Linked DNA regions of Homo sapiens: region 1 is linked to region 2. Evidence: promoter capture Hi-C in human tissues and cell types (Jung and others, 2019). All regions are on one chromosome and are shown on one strand. The core of a region is centred on a gene start or on the middle of the fragment in contact, and the rest is flanking DNA. Distances in the headings are between cores, read along the strand shown. Region 1 overlaps ZNF479 (zinc finger protein 479). Region 2 holds the start of ZNF716 (zinc finger protein 716).

Region 1 (4,171 bases), core at 442-2,941, 320 kb before region 2:
TTGGAAGATACCTCTCAAGTCTTAGTATGTGCAATAAACTAAAGATCTTGTGAGATTTTGTTTCAGGAGATTTCCGAGGAAGTCTGAATTTCTGAATTTTTAGCAAGCTCACCAATGTTTCTAGCCTAGTAAGAATATTTTGTCAAATATCCAGTAAATGGCAGAGTCTGGGTTTTTCCCAGTTTCTCTCACCTGTAAATAAAGATAAGAGCCTTCATTTTTAAAAGACAAATATAAGCAAAAGTCATCTAAAAGGAAAGGACAGCTTCCAGATTAAATGTGATGGTTTATGCACTTCAGCTAGTAAATCTCCTAAGTGTCCTTAACAATTAAGAGAATAAGAATTAACTCTAGAGTGGAAAAAAATGTCATAGAGATCTTGAACCAAGTGAATAAAATTGTTATCAACTTTATTAGGACACATTTTTATTATGTGCTGATGCACACACAACACAACATCACTGCTGTGGCATTTCTCTCCTCTCAGAAAAGTAAATTATAATCTACATTTAATTTTATTATATATATATATATTTTTTTTTTTTTTTTGAGACAGAGTCTCGCTGTGTCACCCAGGCTGGAGTGCAGTGGTACCATCTAATCTCACTGCAACCTCAACTTCCTGAGTTCAAGCAATTCTCCTGCCTCAACCTCCCAAGTAGCTGGGATTACAGGTGCATGCACCATGCCTGGCTAATTTTTGTATTTTTTTTTAGTAGAGATGTTGTTCCACCATGTTGGTCAGGCTGGCCTTGAACTCCTGACCTCACGTGATCCACCTGCCTCGGCCTCCCAATGTGCTGGGATTACAAGCCAAAGCCATTGTGTCTGGCCTAAATTTAATCAAAAAGAAACATCAGTTTTATGCAAAGTTGAAGGTGCAGATAACTTCCCTGTTCTGTAATTTTTATCAGTAATTTTAAGTAGTCTTTCCTTAGCACCCTGGAAAGCAAGTATCTCCTAACAGTTTTTTCAGAACTTTCTGTGTAATAAATGCCACCCTGTTTAAATGAGCATTTTCTAAACACTGTCCTGCATGGAACTAATAGAGCACACAGATGAAACCTCAATAGAACATGTTTCACTTTTCACTAATCTCCAAAGACAACGGTATTTCCCCAATAGAAATCTTGAGTATCCACACCTTCTAATGTTCAACAGCTACAATGGGAACATTTTAAATATCGTAGGTCATAAATTTGTTCTAAGAATTCTGCATGATATACAAGAATCCAAGATGAAGAGAAATGTATAGAATGCTATGGCATATAGAAAACAAATATTTTTTTCAGAACCCCTTGACTATCATAAAAATCACAAAAAATAGTTGAAACAAACTCATTAGGGATCAACAGCACAAGTAGAGAAGTAAAAATTTGCAAGATCTGAACACAAGGCATTCCAAAAGGCAGCAGTGGACACTGCGCTTGATCTGAGACATGCTCACCTGAGAAAAAGTGATTTGTTTCTTTTCCTCCTCTTTCTCTGAAATGTATTTTCAGATGAGATGCTCTGGACATATCAAACCTGCATCTTGAGAATATGCCTTTAAAGCACAACCTATTCACCTGCTACCACCACACACACCCACGGCAGAAAGACCGAGACTTGCAGAAAACATTCACCCATTTTTGTTGTTTATAACTGAAAAGATTTAAGAGCAATGAGAGAACAACAAGCTTCTCCATAACTATTAAAATATAAGTTTCTTTGTCCCTGCCCTCCCCTATCAGAAACCAACAATTTTCTTTACAGTAATGGGAGCATGAACCGCACTGACCTCTTCCTACCAAACTGAAACAGGGCAGGCAGTGCAGCCTTCCTATGATGCAAAGGTTGAACTAAACTCTCCTGAAAGTATCTTGAACCCCTCAAGTTTATAAATCACTTGGTAATCTTGGCCCCGCTCTATGCAACGTGATTCTGCAGGATCCAAAAGGGTCCAGGAATGGGCTTTTACAAGTCCCCTGTAAATGCTGATTGTGCTTTCGCAGACACATTATTAGCATTAGCAAGAGAAAGCAGGCACAGCAGAGTCCCTTACACACACCACATTTGTCACAATACTAATACTACTGCTACAAATAAAAACAACCAATTTCCACCCTGAAATGCTATATTTTTGTTGGCTTTTTTAAGTTTACAGGGACAACAGAAGACAGTAATGTCTGAGTGAATCTGCACCTGGGAAACCTGTACACATGTACTAATAAAATGTTTATTAAGCAGGTATTGTGTGCTCAGGAGCATGTCACAGAACACTGCGCTGGGAATAACACATTTTGTGATTTAATTTTCATAGCACCCTGGGAGTTGGTACTAAGTGCTGAATAATTTTTAGCATTTGGATTAAGAGCACAGCATTTTTATTTCTTCTTATCTTTCTCATTAATTTTAAAAAGAAAATGTATAGAATAATTCAATACAAAAAAACATGTGAAAGGATGCAATTACATAAAAATGGAATAATCAGCTTCCAAATGGCTATTTTGGAAATAATGAAATTAAGGCAGAAATAAAATTTTTGAAACTAATTACAACCGAAATACAACATACCAGAATCTCAGGGTTAGAGCTAAGGCAGTGTTAAGGACAAAATGTATATCACTAAACATCCACATCAAAAAGTTAGAAAGATCTCAATTTAAAAATCTAATGTTACAATTAAAAGAATTTCAAAAGTAAGAGCAAACCAACTTCAGAGCTCACAAAAGTCAAGAAATAACCAAAATCAGAGCTGAAATGAAGAAGTTTGAGACATAAATAACTATAAAAAGTTCAATGGGCCACGCATGTGCTGTGGCTTGCTCCTGTAATCCCAGCACTTTGGGAGGCCAGGGCGGGAAGATCACGAGTTCAGGGGTTTGAGACCAGCCTAGCCAACATAGTGAAAGCCAATCTCTACTAAAAACACAAAAATTAGCTGGCTGTGGTGGCACATGCCTGTAATCCCAGCTACTCCAAAGGCTGAGGCAGGAGAATTGCTTGAAACTGGAAGGCAGAGGTTGCAGTGAGCTGAGACCGCACCACTGCACTCCAGCCTGGGTGTAAGAGTGAAACTCTGTCTTAAAAAAAAAAAAATTCAAAGGAACCAGAAGTTAATTCTATGTAAACATAATAAGATAGATAAAACACTAGACTAATGGGAAAAAAAGAAATAATTCAAATAAAAACAATTAGAATAAAAAGTAAAAACAAAAACAAAAACAGATGCTTGTGAGGTTGTGGAGAAATTGAATGCTTATATGCTGCTGGTGAGAGTATAAATTTATTTAACCATTGAGAAAAGCAGTTTGGCATTTTGACAAAAACCTGAAAACAGAATTACCATTCCCAATCCCGCAATTGGGAATATACCCAGTGAATGTAAGTTTTTCTACCATGAAGACACATGCACGCATATGTTTATTACAGCACGATTCACAATAGCAAAAACAAGAAATAATCCTGTATGTCTTCAATGGTAGACTGGATAAAGAAAACGTCGTATGTAAACACCACGAAATATGATGCACTATAAGAAAGAACAACATCATGTCCTTTGCAGCAATGTCGATTGAACTGGAGATCATTATTTTTAGAAAACTAGTGCTGGAACAGAAAATAAAAAACTGTATGTTGTCACTTATAAGTGGGAGCAAAATAATGAGAACACGTGGACACAAATAAGAGAACAACAGACACTGAGGGTAGAGGTCTGTTCAGGGTAGAGGATCAGAGGATGAAGAAAATCAGAAAACAAATCTGTTGGGTACTATACTTAGTACTTGAGTGATAACATAATCTGTACACAAAAACTTCATGATATGATTTTACCTATACAACAAACCTGCACATGTACCCCTGAACCTAAAATAAAAGGTAAAAAAAAAAATCAGCTGGGTGCGGTGGCTCACACCTGTAACCCCAGCCCATTGGGAGGCTGAGGCAGGCAGATCACCTGAGGCCAAAAGTTGGAGACCTACCTGGCCAACATGGTGAAATCCTGTCTCTACTAAAAATACAAAAATTAGTTGGGCCTGGTGGCACACACCTGTAATTCCAGCCACTCGGGAGGCTAAGGCAGGACAATTACTTGAACCTGGGAGGCAGAGGTTGTAATGAGGTGAGATCGCACCACTGCACTCCAGCCTGGAGGACAGAGCGAGACTCCCTCTCAAAAATAAAAAAC
Region 2 (3,789 bases), core at 109-2,608:
GGCTAATTTTTGTACTTTTAGTAGAGACAGGATTTCGCCATGTTAGACAGGCTGGTCTCGAACTCCTGACCTCAGGTTTTCTGCTGCCTCAGCCTCTCAAAATGCTGGAATTACATGTGTGAGCCACTGTGCCCGGCCCCACCTTTTTCTTTTTACTTTTTAATATTTGCCTAATAGAAAATTCAAAATTTACTTGTGGTTCACATTTTACTGCAGAGGACTGCCTCCTTCGTGAAATCTCAGGCTGCCTTCATGGATTAGGTCATTTTCACACTGCTATAAACAAATACCTCAGACCACGTAATGTTTTTAAAAAGTGGTTTAATTAAGTCATAGTTCTACATGGCTGAGGAATCCTCAGGAAAATTACAATCATGACCATGACGGAAGGTGAAGGGAAAGCAAGGCACATCTTACTGGGTAGAAAAAGAGAGAGAACTGGGGATGGGGAGGGTAGGGGGATGTGCCACAGTTTTAATCCATCGGATATCTTGAGAGCTCCCTTACTATCACAAGAATAGCATGAGGATAATCCCTCTCTAAGATCCAGTCACCTCCCACCCGGTGCCTGCCCTGACATGTGGGAATTACAATTTTTTTTTTTTTTTTTTTTTGAGACAGAATCTCCCTGCTGTCGCCCAGGCTGGAGTGCAATGGCGCGATCTCGGCTCACTGCAACCTCCGCCTCCTGGGTTCAAGTGATTTTTCTGCCTTAGCTTCCCGAGTAGCTGACCCTATAGGCGCCCGCCACCACCCTGGCTAATTTTTGTATTTTTAGTAGAGACGGGGTTTCACCATGTTGGCCAGGCTGGTCTCGAACTCCTGACTTCAAGTGATCCCTCCCCGCCCCCCGCCCTCCCCTCTCCCGCCTTCGCCTTCCCCGCTCGGCCTCCCTAAGTGCTGGGATTACAGTCGTGAGCCACCGCGCCCGGCCAGGAATTAAAATTTGAGATGAGATTTGGGTGGAGCTACAGAGCCAAACCATATCACTGCAAAGGATCCGCAGCAAGGAAGGTCATAAAATCTGAAATTGTAAAATAATTCTTTATATTTTTTCAATTTATGAATAACTATATTATATATCATTTATAAATGCATATGACATTATACACAAGGTTAAATGCAAGTATCCTCTGGGGTTGGCCTGGCTCAGATCAGGGAAGAAGCCTTGGCTGTAAAGGCTGCAGCCTAACCTGTTACTTTTGCTTTATTCAGCCCAGTGTCTGATCAAATTTTCCGTCACTCAGGGCATGAAGGGTGGGGCCTCAAACCTTATCCAATCAGGGGCCGTGAAATAGAAACTGTCCAATCAGGAATGCAGCGGGAGAGAACAGGACGCTTCCGTAAGGTTACGGGTTCTTTTTGCTTCTCTGCGCCCAGAGCTCCAGTCCTTCTCTTCACTGCTCTGCGTCCTCTGCTCCTGGAGGCCAAGCCTCTGTGGCCTTGTGTCCTGCAAGTATTCGCAGATTTATGGCTAAAAGACCGGGACCCCCTGGAAGCCGAGAAATGGTGAGTGCTGGGTCTGTCACCGTGAGAGAGGGGTGGGGGCTGGTTGGAACTGACTGAAAGTGGCTGTAGCAGGACCCAAACTTCCTCGCAGTCAGCTCCGGAGTCTGAGGACCCAAATCCTCCTTGTCCCAGCTCGGCTCTTAGTCCCCTCGAGCGTTAAGATGCTGCCTGGGCCAGCGGCTGGGACCCTGGGAGTTCTGTCTTTTTCCTCTGCAGTGGCTTTGCCCTGGACTGGAGCCCTCTCTGGGCAGCTCTACACTCCCAGCGCCTCATCTCACCCAGACTGTGCAGGGATGGGAAAGTCATCAGGGAAGAATCCAGACTTAGGGTGCAGGATTCGTGAGTGGAAAGAGCTGTGTTCCCTGGGGTCCCTAGTTCCTCATTTTTTCTTTTAGAGATGTATGGGGAGTCGCTGTAAAAATATCAGAGAATTGAATCAAAGTGTGATTCAAGAATCTTAGAGCGCCCAGCTATGGTTTGTGGGTTGTGATCCATGGGAGAGACTTGAAGGAAAGTTTGTTATAAGTTTCATGATGAAGCAAACCCGATTAAATAATTGGTTTGGTACAGTTAGGTAGTTTCCTTGTTTGTAAGATCCAGGTGAAAATGGCTTGGTTATGTCATCAGAGATTAATTGGCAGTCTGTGGTTGACTAGGCCTGAATATTTTTCTTCAAGAAAGTAATTTCCAAGAAATGCATTTTTTTTTTTTTGAGAGGGAGTCTCGCTCTGTTGCCCAGGCTGGAGTGCAATGGCACGATCTCAGCTCAATGCAACCGCCCTCCCGGGTTCAGGCGATTCTCCCGCCTCAGGCTGCGGAGTAGCTGGGATTACAGACTGCCACCACCACGCCCGGCTTTTGTTTTTTAGTAGAGACGTGGTTTCACCATGTTGGCCAGGGTGCTCTTGAAATCCTGACCTGAAGTGATCCGCCTGCCTTGGCCTCCGAAAGTGCTGGGATTACAGTCGTGATCCCCCCGTGCCCAGCTGTAAGAGATACATTTGAGATAGATTTTTTTTTTTAAGTGAGAGCCGAGAAGAATCAATCCACCTCAGTCTAATTGGCTGCTGTTTAAATATTTTTACACCCCACAGGAAATTGGTTTTCCCTTGGATTTTTTTTTTTTTTTTTTTTTTTTGAGATAGAGCCTCGCAATGTTGCCCAAGCTGGAGTTCAGTGGTGTGATCTCAGCTCACTGCAACTTCCGCCTCCTGGGTTCAAGTGATTCGCCTGCCTCAGCCTCCTGAGTAGCTGGGATTACATGCACCCGCCACCATGCCTGGCTAATTTTTGTATTTTTAGTAGAGATAGAGTGTTGCCATGCTGGCCAGGCTGGTCTCAAACTCCTGGCCTCAAGTGATCTGCCCACCTTTGTCTCTCAAAGTGCTGGGATTACAGGAATAGGCTATCACACCCAGCCTGCGTTTTTCAACTCTTTCTTTCTTTTTTTTTTTTTTGAGATGGAGTCTCACTCTGTGGCCCAGGCTGGAATGCAGTGGCGTGATCTTGCCTCACTACAACCTCCACCTCCTGGGTTCAAGTGATTCTCCTGCCTCAGCCTCCCAGGTAGCTGGGATTACAGGCCTACACCACCATACATGGCTAATTTTTGTATTTTTAATAGAGATGGGGTTTCACCATTTTGGCCAGGCTGGTCTCAAATTCCTGACCTCAGGTGATCTGGCCATCTTGGCCTCCCAAAGTGCTGGGATTACAGGAATGAGCCACCATGCCCTTCCTCAGCTGTGTCTTAAGCAGGGTCTTAAGTCAACCATTCTGTTCTCACAGACTAACTCTGGCTTGCAATAAAATATTAAATTTTCAGTTTTTGTGACATTCCCAAATGTCAACTTTTCTTTCTAACTCATATTATTATCTATTTGTCCTTTCTTGTATGTTTCAGACACAGTACTTACATTAATTATTTTTTTTAAAAGCATTGGATGGCACTTTAAAAGTGTCATTCAATGTCAAATGGGAAAAAAAGTTCCCATTTGTAAATATTTCACATAAGAAGAAAGCAGGGGCCGGACGCGGTGGCTCATGCCTGTAATCCTAGCACTTTGGGAGACTGAGGCGAGCAAATCACTTGAGGTCAGGAGTTGGAAACCAACCTGGCCAACATGATGAAACCCCATCTCTACTAAAAATGCAAAAAAAAATAACCGGGCGTGGTGGTGAGTGCCTGTAATCCCAGCTACTCAGGAGGCTGAGGCAGGAGAATTGCTTGCACCCAGGAGACGGAGGTTGCAGTGAGCCAAGATGGTGCCACTGCACTCC

What was found. Contacts are between HindIII fragments. The study calls those that stand out against the background at their distance.
Region 1: a fragment that was not itself captured here is called in contact with the fragment with the promoter of ZNF716 in region 2 in 11 of the 25 tissues and cell types used here (H1 embryonic stem cells, IMR-90 fibroblasts, aorta and 8 more).

Annotation. Positions count from the first base shown.
Region 1 is chr7:57,127,405-57,131,575 of GRCh38, forward strand. All of the region lies in intron 1 of ZNF479 (zinc finger protein 479), which reads right to left. Among named protein-coding and RNA genes, the nearest start is that of ZNF479, 2.9 kb to the right of the region's middle. The HindIII fragment of the contact is 5,941 bases long and covers 1-4,171 here.
Region 2 is chr7:57,448,819-57,452,607 of GRCh38, forward strand. ZNF716 (zinc finger protein 716) reads left to right here and starts at 1,359. Exons shown (of 4, transcript NM_001159279.1): 1 at 1,359-1,509. The coding sequence starts at 1,471. The HindIII fragment of the contact is 19,624 bases long and covers 1-3,789 here.